Regions from separate parts of the Homo sapiens genome. Here regions 2 and 3 are each linked to region 1. The links are contacts of gene promoters, found by promoter capture Hi-C in blood cells and fetal thymus (Javierre and others, 2016). All regions are on one chromosome and are shown on one strand. The core of a region is centred on a gene start or on the middle of the fragment in contact, and the rest is flanking DNA. Distances in the headings are between cores, read along the strand shown. Region 1 holds the start of FAM219B (family with sequence similarity 219 member B). Region 2 holds the start of CYP1A2 (cytochrome P450 family 1 subfamily A member 2). Region 3 has its middle 15 kb from the start of CSK.

Region 1 (2,564 bases), core at 34-2,533:
CGTGCCCAGCTAATTTTGTATTTTTAATAGAGACGGGCTTTCACCATGTTGGCCAGGCTGGTCTCGAACTCCTGACTTCAAGTGATCCACCCGCCTCGGCTTCCCAAAGTGCTGGAATTACAGTCGTGAGCCACCACGCCCGGCCTGTATTCTACTCCTCCCATAGGTCTTGGAAAAAAGCACACCTCCCCTTGCCTGATCTAGGAAAAGCACCCTCTCCCCACTTATTTAATCAGAGGACACAAAAACTGCAAGTCTTTGGGTAAAAGGTTAGGGTTAACCTTCACTTCTCCGAGTTTCAACCCTCATCTGTAAAAGGAGGCACTGAATAAGGTTCTATGCAGCTCCGAGTTTACTATTCTGTTAAAAACAAACAAACAAAAACAGGTCTAGCCATTCCCACACTGCTCTTCGTCCTCATTGCTGGGGACTCCAGCCACCATTCTCCTCCCTAACAGAGGAGGAGAATGATAGTGAATGAGCCTGTGCACTCACAGAACTCCCTTATTCCGAAGCCCTTTATCTGATCCTATCACATCCTTAAAGGAAAAGAGAGATTGTTCCTCTTCCCATTTTAAAGATAGTGAACCTGACAGGTTGCATCAGGGGAATCGCTAGCTCGGCCTTAAACCAGAGCACCCTGCCTCCGTCCTGGGGATTAAAGCCTTCTCTAAAGCTGCTGGCACAGAGGAGGTGGCGCCTGCTGAGACCTTTTCCCTGAAGAGTCTGGGCGGTTCGGCGAGGCCCCCAGCATGCCTTTTCTCCGCAGAACGGCCTTGGCCAGGTCCCGGTGCTTCTCTGGAAGTTAAAGGACCCGGGTCAGCCGGGTCTTCCCCACTCCGCCGCGTCTCCCGAAGGCTGGGAGGCCGCTCTTTCCGAACGGATTTTGAGGGGCGAGAGCAGGCTGCAGCTAACCCCTTCCCTCCGGGGCCGAGGCCCAGCGGAGCTCCGGAACCCGCCCTGGGGACGCGGCCGCCCGCCCAGGGAGAAACCTCCCCCGACCATCGGGCCACACTCACGCAGCTTGGCTTGAATGGAGGGTGCGCGCGTCACCATGTATGGCCCCCGCTTTTCCACGGCCGCGGGGGTGCGCTCCCCCAGACGGAGGGCTCTATTACCGATCTGCCCGGAGGGTGGCCCCGCAGCTCCCGGCGCGCGGTCCCGAGCCCCGCTGGGCCGGGGTCCCGGGGTAGACAACCGCAACGCGCGCCCGCTGGGCTCCGCGGTCGCCATGGCCGGGCCCCGCCCTGCCGGATGGTGCAACCCCGCCCGTGGCGAAAGAGTGACCGGCCGAGGGAGAGGCGGGCTCTTTTAACAAGATGGCGGTGCGCAGGCGCAGGTAGTCCCCTTTCGGAGCTCTCCGGTTCGGTAGTCTGAGGACTTGGCCGAAATGTTCCGCCCTTCTTTTCGGGGGGACCGGGCAGTTCCGTTCTCGGTTTTGGGGTAGGCGGCTTGAGCCTGGTGATGGTTAGGCTTAGTTCTGTCTCTAGTGGAAATTAAATACTGATACTGTCGTGGGGCTGCGCGTGTGCGTCGGTCGGGTGCCCACGGTTTGAGTCCTGGCGCGCCGCACTCTGTGCTTCTCGCAGTGTCTCCTTGGGGGTCTCCCCACATGTGGGGCTGCCAGAGAGCAGACTTGGGTTGAAGAGTCATATGAGGACAAGCGTTATCAGCGACCTTTTCTAGCAAAAGAAACAGGCCCCAGAAGTTAAAGAACCTTGTGAAGGTGACACATCTAGAGGCAGTGCTTGCGCTGATCCATCTGACGCCAAACCCCACCTTCTTTCCAACACCAATTGGTGCCTGTGACATTGGACAGGACCTGACCCTCTCTAGGCCTCAGTTTCCACATTTAAAAATAGAGCCAATGTCACTACTCATTGTACAGTGAGGCAAATAGGCGTTGAAAAGGAGGGTGAAAGTGCACTCTGAGTCTGTGTGTGGTAGGCTATGTGTCAGGGCTCTTGACTTCTCTAGCCCCCAAGGGATGTGCTTGTGACTGGCTGGAAAGAAACTCCAGATCCTTGTAGAACTCCCAAATCTCATGAGGCTGTCCCTTGACTAACTTACTGGCTTCAATAGGGTAGGTCAACAGTGTGCAACCTCCGAGCTCCCAGGGCCACGCAGACCGTTGGGTGGCACTATGCCTTGGGCAAGAGAGGTGAAAAGGAAGAATTTAGGGCTGAAGTTTTCAAAAATCAAAAGCACAAAGGAATCCTTACCATTTTGGTAGATTCCCCCCACTCCCCATGATGTTAGACTGTTTTTGCCTCCAGAAACAGCAGGTTCATATAGCTCAACTTAGTATTTAATGGTTATAACCTCCCAATGAAGCCAATAGTTATTCTTGTTAAACAAATGAAGCTTAGACTTGGTCAAGTTTACCAGTTAAGTGATAAACCTGGAATTTGTACCCAGTTGCCTGTGGACTCCAAAGAAGTAGTTTTCTGGCCGGGCACAGTGGCTCACATCTGTAATCCCAGCACTTTGGGAGGCTGAGGCAGGCGGATCACCCGAGGTAGGGAGTTCAAGACCAGCTTGGCCAACATGGTGAAACCCCATCT
Region 2 (2,564 bases), core at 19-2,518, 160 kb before region 1:
GATACAGGCATGCAATATGAAATAAGCATTCATGGAGAATGGAGTATCCATCCCCTCAAGCAAGGATAAACCTTTGAGTTACAAACAATCCAATTACACTCTTTAAAGGTGTACATTTTTTTTTTTTTTGAGACGGAGTCTCACTCTGTCGCCCAGGCTGGAGTGGAGTGGCACGATCTTGGCTCACTGCAGCCTCCACCTCCCAAGTTCAAGCCATTCTCCTGCCTCAGCCTCCCGAGTAGCTGGGATCACAGGCACATGCCACCATGCCTGGCTAATTTTTGTATTTTTAGTAGAGACGGAGTTTCACCAGGTTGGCCAGGCTGGTCTTGAACACCTGATCTCAGGTGATCCGCCCATCTCGGCCTCTCAAAGTGCTGGGATTACAGGTGCGAGCCATCGCGCCTGGCCTAGAGGTGTACATTTTTTAACAGAACCATTCAAAAGGAGGTTGTGGGGATCATGACACTTCCATGCTACAGCATTAATCTCCTAAGAATAAGGATACACTCCCACATACCATGACACTCTGTTCACACCTAAAAAAATTTACATTTATTCCAGAATATCATCTAATCTCCAGTCCGTGCTTACATGTCCCCAATTGTCCCCAAAACATCTTTTATAGATTTTTTTAAAATTTTGTTTAAATGCCATATCCAATCGATATGGCAATCAAATGCAAATCCATATTGCATTTGGTTATGTCTCTTAGTCTTTTTGCATAAGGGGGGCCTCTCTTTAGGATGCAAAATCTTTATCATCTCTTCTTTTCCACTTGGGGACTTGGGCTGAAAATCAGGAGTGGCTGGAACACGCCCATTTACTGTTTGGTTTTGCAGGTTGTTGGAGGGTACTACAGAAGAACATCCCTCTGGAGAGGGGCCGTGAGCCTGGTTGGCCTAGACTGAGTGCCCTGGCAGAGCTCTTCCTCATGTGTGCAGTGGGAAAGAAGCCCAGATCAGTCCAAAGGCCTAACCCCCACTCCCAGACCCTACCCTACTCTTCAGAGAAATAGGCTCCCTACCCTGAACCCTAAAGACAGCTGTACCTTCATCCCCAGGGACCCAGCACCCCTTCTGGCCTATCCCCAAAGAGTCACCCTGGGTCTTAGGTAGTAGGTGGAGCTGAGGGATAATGGCCCAAGGCCAAGAGTTGATCCTTCCAACTTTGTTCAGTGATCCAGCTTTCATATCAGGTGATCAGGACAACCAGGCCAATCTGATAGGGGGCGGTGTTTATAAAAAGGCCACTCACCTAGAGCCAGAAGCTCCACACCAGCCATTACAACCCTGCCAATCTCAAGCACCTGCCTCTACAGGTACCTTTCTTGGGACCAATTTACAATCTCTGGGATCCCCAACTATAGAACCTGGAAGCTAGTGGGGACAGAAAGACGGGGAGCCTGGGCTAGGTGTAGGGGTCCTGAGTTCCGGGCTTTGCTACCCAGCTCTTGACTTCTGTTTCCCGATTTTAAATGAGCAGTTTGGACTAAGCCATTTTTAAGGAGAGCGATGGGGAGGGCTTCCCCCTTAGCACAAGGGCAGCCCTGGCCCTGGCTGAAGCCCAACCCCAACCTCCAAGACTGTGAGAGGATGGGGACTCATCCCTGGAGGAGGTGCCCCTCCTGGTATTGATAAAGAATGCCCTGGGGAGGGGGCATCACAGGCTATTTGAACCAGCCCTGGGACCTTGGCCACCTCAGTGTCACTGGGTAGGGGGAACTCCTGGTCCCTTGGGTATATGGAAGGTATCAGCAGAAAGCCAGCACTGGCAGGGACTCTTTGGTACAATACCCAGCATGCATGCTGTGCCAGGGGCTGACAAGGGTGCTGTCCTTGGCTTCCCCATTTTGGAGTGGTCACTTGCCTCTACTCCAGCCCCAGAAGTGGAAACTGAGATGATGTGTGGAGGAGAGAGCCAGCGTTCATGTTGGGAATCTTGAGGCTCCTTTCCAGCTCTCAGATTCTGTGATGCTCAAAGGGTGAGCTCTGTGGGCCCAGGACGCATGGTAGATGGAGCTTAGTCTTTCTGGTATCCAGCTGGGAGCCAAGCACAGAACACGCATCAGTGTTTATCAAATGACTGAGGAAATGAATGAATGAATGTCTCCATCTCAACCCTCAGCCTGGTCCCTCCTTTTTTCCCTGCAGTTGGTACAGATGGCATTGTCCCAGTCTGTTCCCTTCTCGGCCACAGAGCTTCTCCTGGCCTCTGCCATCTTCTGCCTGGTATTCTGGGTGCTCAAGGGTTTGAGGCCTCGGGTCCCCAAAGGCCTGAAAAGTCCACCAGAGCCATGGGGCTGGCCCTTGCTCGGGCATGTGCTGACCCTGGGGAAGAACCCGCACCTGGCACTGTCAAGGATGAGCCAGCGCTACGGGGACGTCCTGCAGATCCGCATTGGCTCCACGCCCGTGCTGGTGCTGAGCCGCCTGGACACCATCCGGCAGGCCCTGGTGCGGCAGGGCGACGATTTCAAGGGCCGGCCTGACCTCTACACCTCCACCCTCATCACTGATGGCCAGAGCTTGACCTTCAGCACAGACTCTGGACCGGTGTGGGCT
Region 3 (2,564 bases), core at 37-2,536, 140 kb before region 1:
AGTGGTGATGGCTGCACAACATTATGAGTGCATTTAATACCACTAAACTGTGTACTTAAAAATGGTTAAGATGGAGGCTGGGCACGTTGGCTCACTTCTGTAATTCCAGCACTTTGGGAGTCTGAGGTGGGTGGATCACTTCAGGTCAGGAGTTCAGGACCAGCCTGGCCAACATGGTGAAAACCCCATCTCTACTAAAAATATAAAAATTAGCCGGGCATGGTGGCGGGTGCCTGTAACCCCAGCTACTCGGGAGGCTGAGGTGGGAGGATTGCTTGAGCCTGGGAGGTAGAGGTTGCAGTGAGTTGAGATGGCTCCACTGCACTCCAGCCTGGGCAACAGAACGAGAGCCCATTAAAAAAAAAAAAAAAAGGTTGGCTGGGCACAGTGGCTCACACCTGTAATCTCAGCACTTTGGGGGGCTGAGGCAGGAGGATCATCTGAGGTCAAGAGTTCAAGACCAGCCTGGCCAACATGGTGAAACTCTGTCTCTATTAAAACTACAAAAATTAGCTGGGCATTGGGAGGCAGAGGTTGCAGTAAGCCCAGATCATGCCACTGCGCTCCAGCCTGGGCAACAGAGCGAGACTCCATCTCAAAAAAAAAAAAAATAGCCAGGTATGCCGGGCGCGGTGGCTCACGCCTGTAATCCCAGCACTTTGGGAGGCTGAGGCGGGTGGATCACCTGAGGTCAGGAGTTCGAGACCAGCCTCAACATGGAGAAACCCCGTCTCTACTAAAAGCACAAAATTAGCCAGACATAGTGGTGAATGCCTGTAATCTCAGCTACTCGGGAGGCTGAGGCAGGAGAATTGTTTGAACCCAGGAGGCGGAGGCTGCAGTGAGCCAAGATTGTGCCATTGCACTCCAGCCCAGGCGAAGGAGCGAGACTCCATCTGAAAAAAGAAAAGAAAAGAAAAGAGGAGGGTGGGCGCGGTGGGTCACGCCTGTAATCCCAGCACTTTGGGAGGCTGAGGCGGGCGGATCACAAGGTCAGGAGTTCGAGACCAGCCTGGCCAATATGGTGAAACTCTGTCTCTACTAAAAATACAAAAATTATCCGGGAGTGGTGGCGGATGCCTGTAGTCCCAGCTACTCGGGAAGCTGAGACAGGAGAATCGCTTGAACCCGGGAGGCGGAGGTTATAGTGAGCCAAGATCGAGATCGGACCACTGCACTCCAGCCTGGGAGATAGAGCGATACTTTGCTTCAAAAAATAAAAAATCAAAAAAAAAAAAAAGAGGAAAAAGAGTTCTAGGCAGAGGGACCAACCTGTGCAAAGGTCCTGAGGCAGGAAAGGGGTTACTGTGTGCTTGAAGGCAAATTATCACCCCTCTTAGGAAAGGCATAGCCTCACCTGTGAAATAACCCAAATTTAGAGATGGAGAGACAGAGGTTCAGAGAGGGAAGATGGCTTCTTCAGGAAAGCAGAAGAGCCAGAACTGAAACCTAGATCTTTTTGGCTCTATGAACTCAGAGGTATTTCAGGTATGCATTTGGGGACCTTTTGCAAGATTGTAAAGACCAGGACGGGAAGGAAAGGGCCACCCTCCGGGGGCTTTTCTTTTCCTGGGAAGAAGGTCTTCTTTCCAGGAAGGTGGTGTACGGGCAAGGCTGAAAACCCAGCCTTCATTCTGCCAGGCCAGTCCCCTCCTAGTCCCTGCTGCCCCAGGGCTGCAGAATCCTATCCTGGCTCCTGCCAGGCTCCCCTGCAGCTGGGCAAACAGGCAGTGGGTGGGACTCGGTATAATTTCCTCCTTGCCCGCCTGGGGTCTGCTAGGCTCTGGCTGAGCTCTCTGGCCTCTGCCCTGCACCCCCAACTTGGAGCCCAAAGGGGGTCATGGGTCTTTCTGCCCTGTGTCCCCAGGGATGCACCCGATGAGTTTGAGAAGGGGCTGCCTTCTCACCCAGAGAGAGGTGAGGCCATCCCCTCACCCAGAGAGGGGCTCCAGGCCCCACTCCAAGGGAGAGTCAGAACTTCCCGGTGCCTACAGGCGCACTGTGCTAAACCAGTGTGAGCATCCTGCGCTGATAATGCTACATGCATAAGCTGCGGATGCACAGGGGCTCAGACTCAGGGGACTGTGGGGAGTCCTGGCAGCCACATATACATCGGGCTCACCCCTGTAGCACCCCATCTAGAAAAGCCCATCCAGAGCCAGAAGGGGCTTCTGGGGATGGTTCCTGGAAGGGCTGGGTTCTGCTGTTCTCTGAGTGACCAATCCACCCATTCTTTCCAGAAATGGTCCTATCCCATCTCCTTCCCCTCCAGCCGCTCTCGGTTCCCTGCCCTCATCCACCCAGGATGTCACTGGGCCTGCTGCGAGTGGCTGCCCGGGGAAAAGGCCAGGAGCTCTGCAATGAGCCTGTAATCCCAGCACTTTGGGAGGCTGAAGTGGGTAGATACGCACTACACACAAGCCAGCACCAGGTTCCTCCCACCCAGGGGATGACAGAGGAGCTCCAGCTCACCACCGTGCCTCAAGTCCCCTGCTTAACTGTCCTATGTGAGCTCAGGGCCGCCCTCTGGGGGCTTTTCTTTTATTTATTTATTTATTTATTTA

What was found. The method cuts DNA at HindIII sites, captures the fragments that hold promoters and counts their contacts. A CHiCAGO score of 5 or more calls a contact.
Region 2: the fragment with the promoter of CYP1A2 here is called in contact with the fragment with the promoter of FAM219B in region 1 in 6 of 17 cell types (fetal thymus, monocytes, erythroblasts and 3 more); the score reaches 9.1 in fetal thymus.
Region 3: a contact is called between a fragment that was not itself captured here and the fragment with the promoter of FAM219B in region 1, in 6 of 17 cell types (non-activated CD4 T cells, activated CD4 T cells, neutrophils and 3 more). The highest score is 6.5, in non-activated CD4 T cells.

The regions. Positions count from the first base shown.
Region 1 is chr15:74,905,568-74,908,131 of GRCh38, forward strand. It overlaps FAM219B (family with sequence similarity 219 member B), which reads right to left and starts at 1,284. Exons shown (of 5, transcript NM_020447.5): 1 at 1,020-1,284; 2 at 711-798. The coding sequence starts at 1,233. RefSeq lists enhancers at 1-700, 701-1,505, 1,347-1,626 and a silencer at 987-1,286. The HindIII fragment of the contact is 3,941 bases long and covers 1-2,362 here.
Region 2 is chr15:74,747,577-74,750,140 of GRCh38, forward strand. CYP1A2 (cytochrome P450 family 1 subfamily A member 2) reads left to right here and starts at 1,269. Exons shown (of 7, transcript NM_000761.5): 1 at 1,269-1,321; 2 at 2,154-2,564. The coding sequence starts at 2,163. RefSeq lists promoters at 1-1,359, 1,025-2,162. The HindIII fragment of the contact is 9,803 bases long and covers 1-2,564 here.
Region 3 is chr15:74,766,045-74,768,608 of GRCh38, forward strand. No RefSeq gene overlaps it. Among named protein-coding and RNA genes, the nearest start is that of CSK, 15 kb to the right of the region's middle. RefSeq lists an enhancer at 1,290-2,067. The HindIII fragment of the contact is 2,992 bases long and covers 1-2,564 here.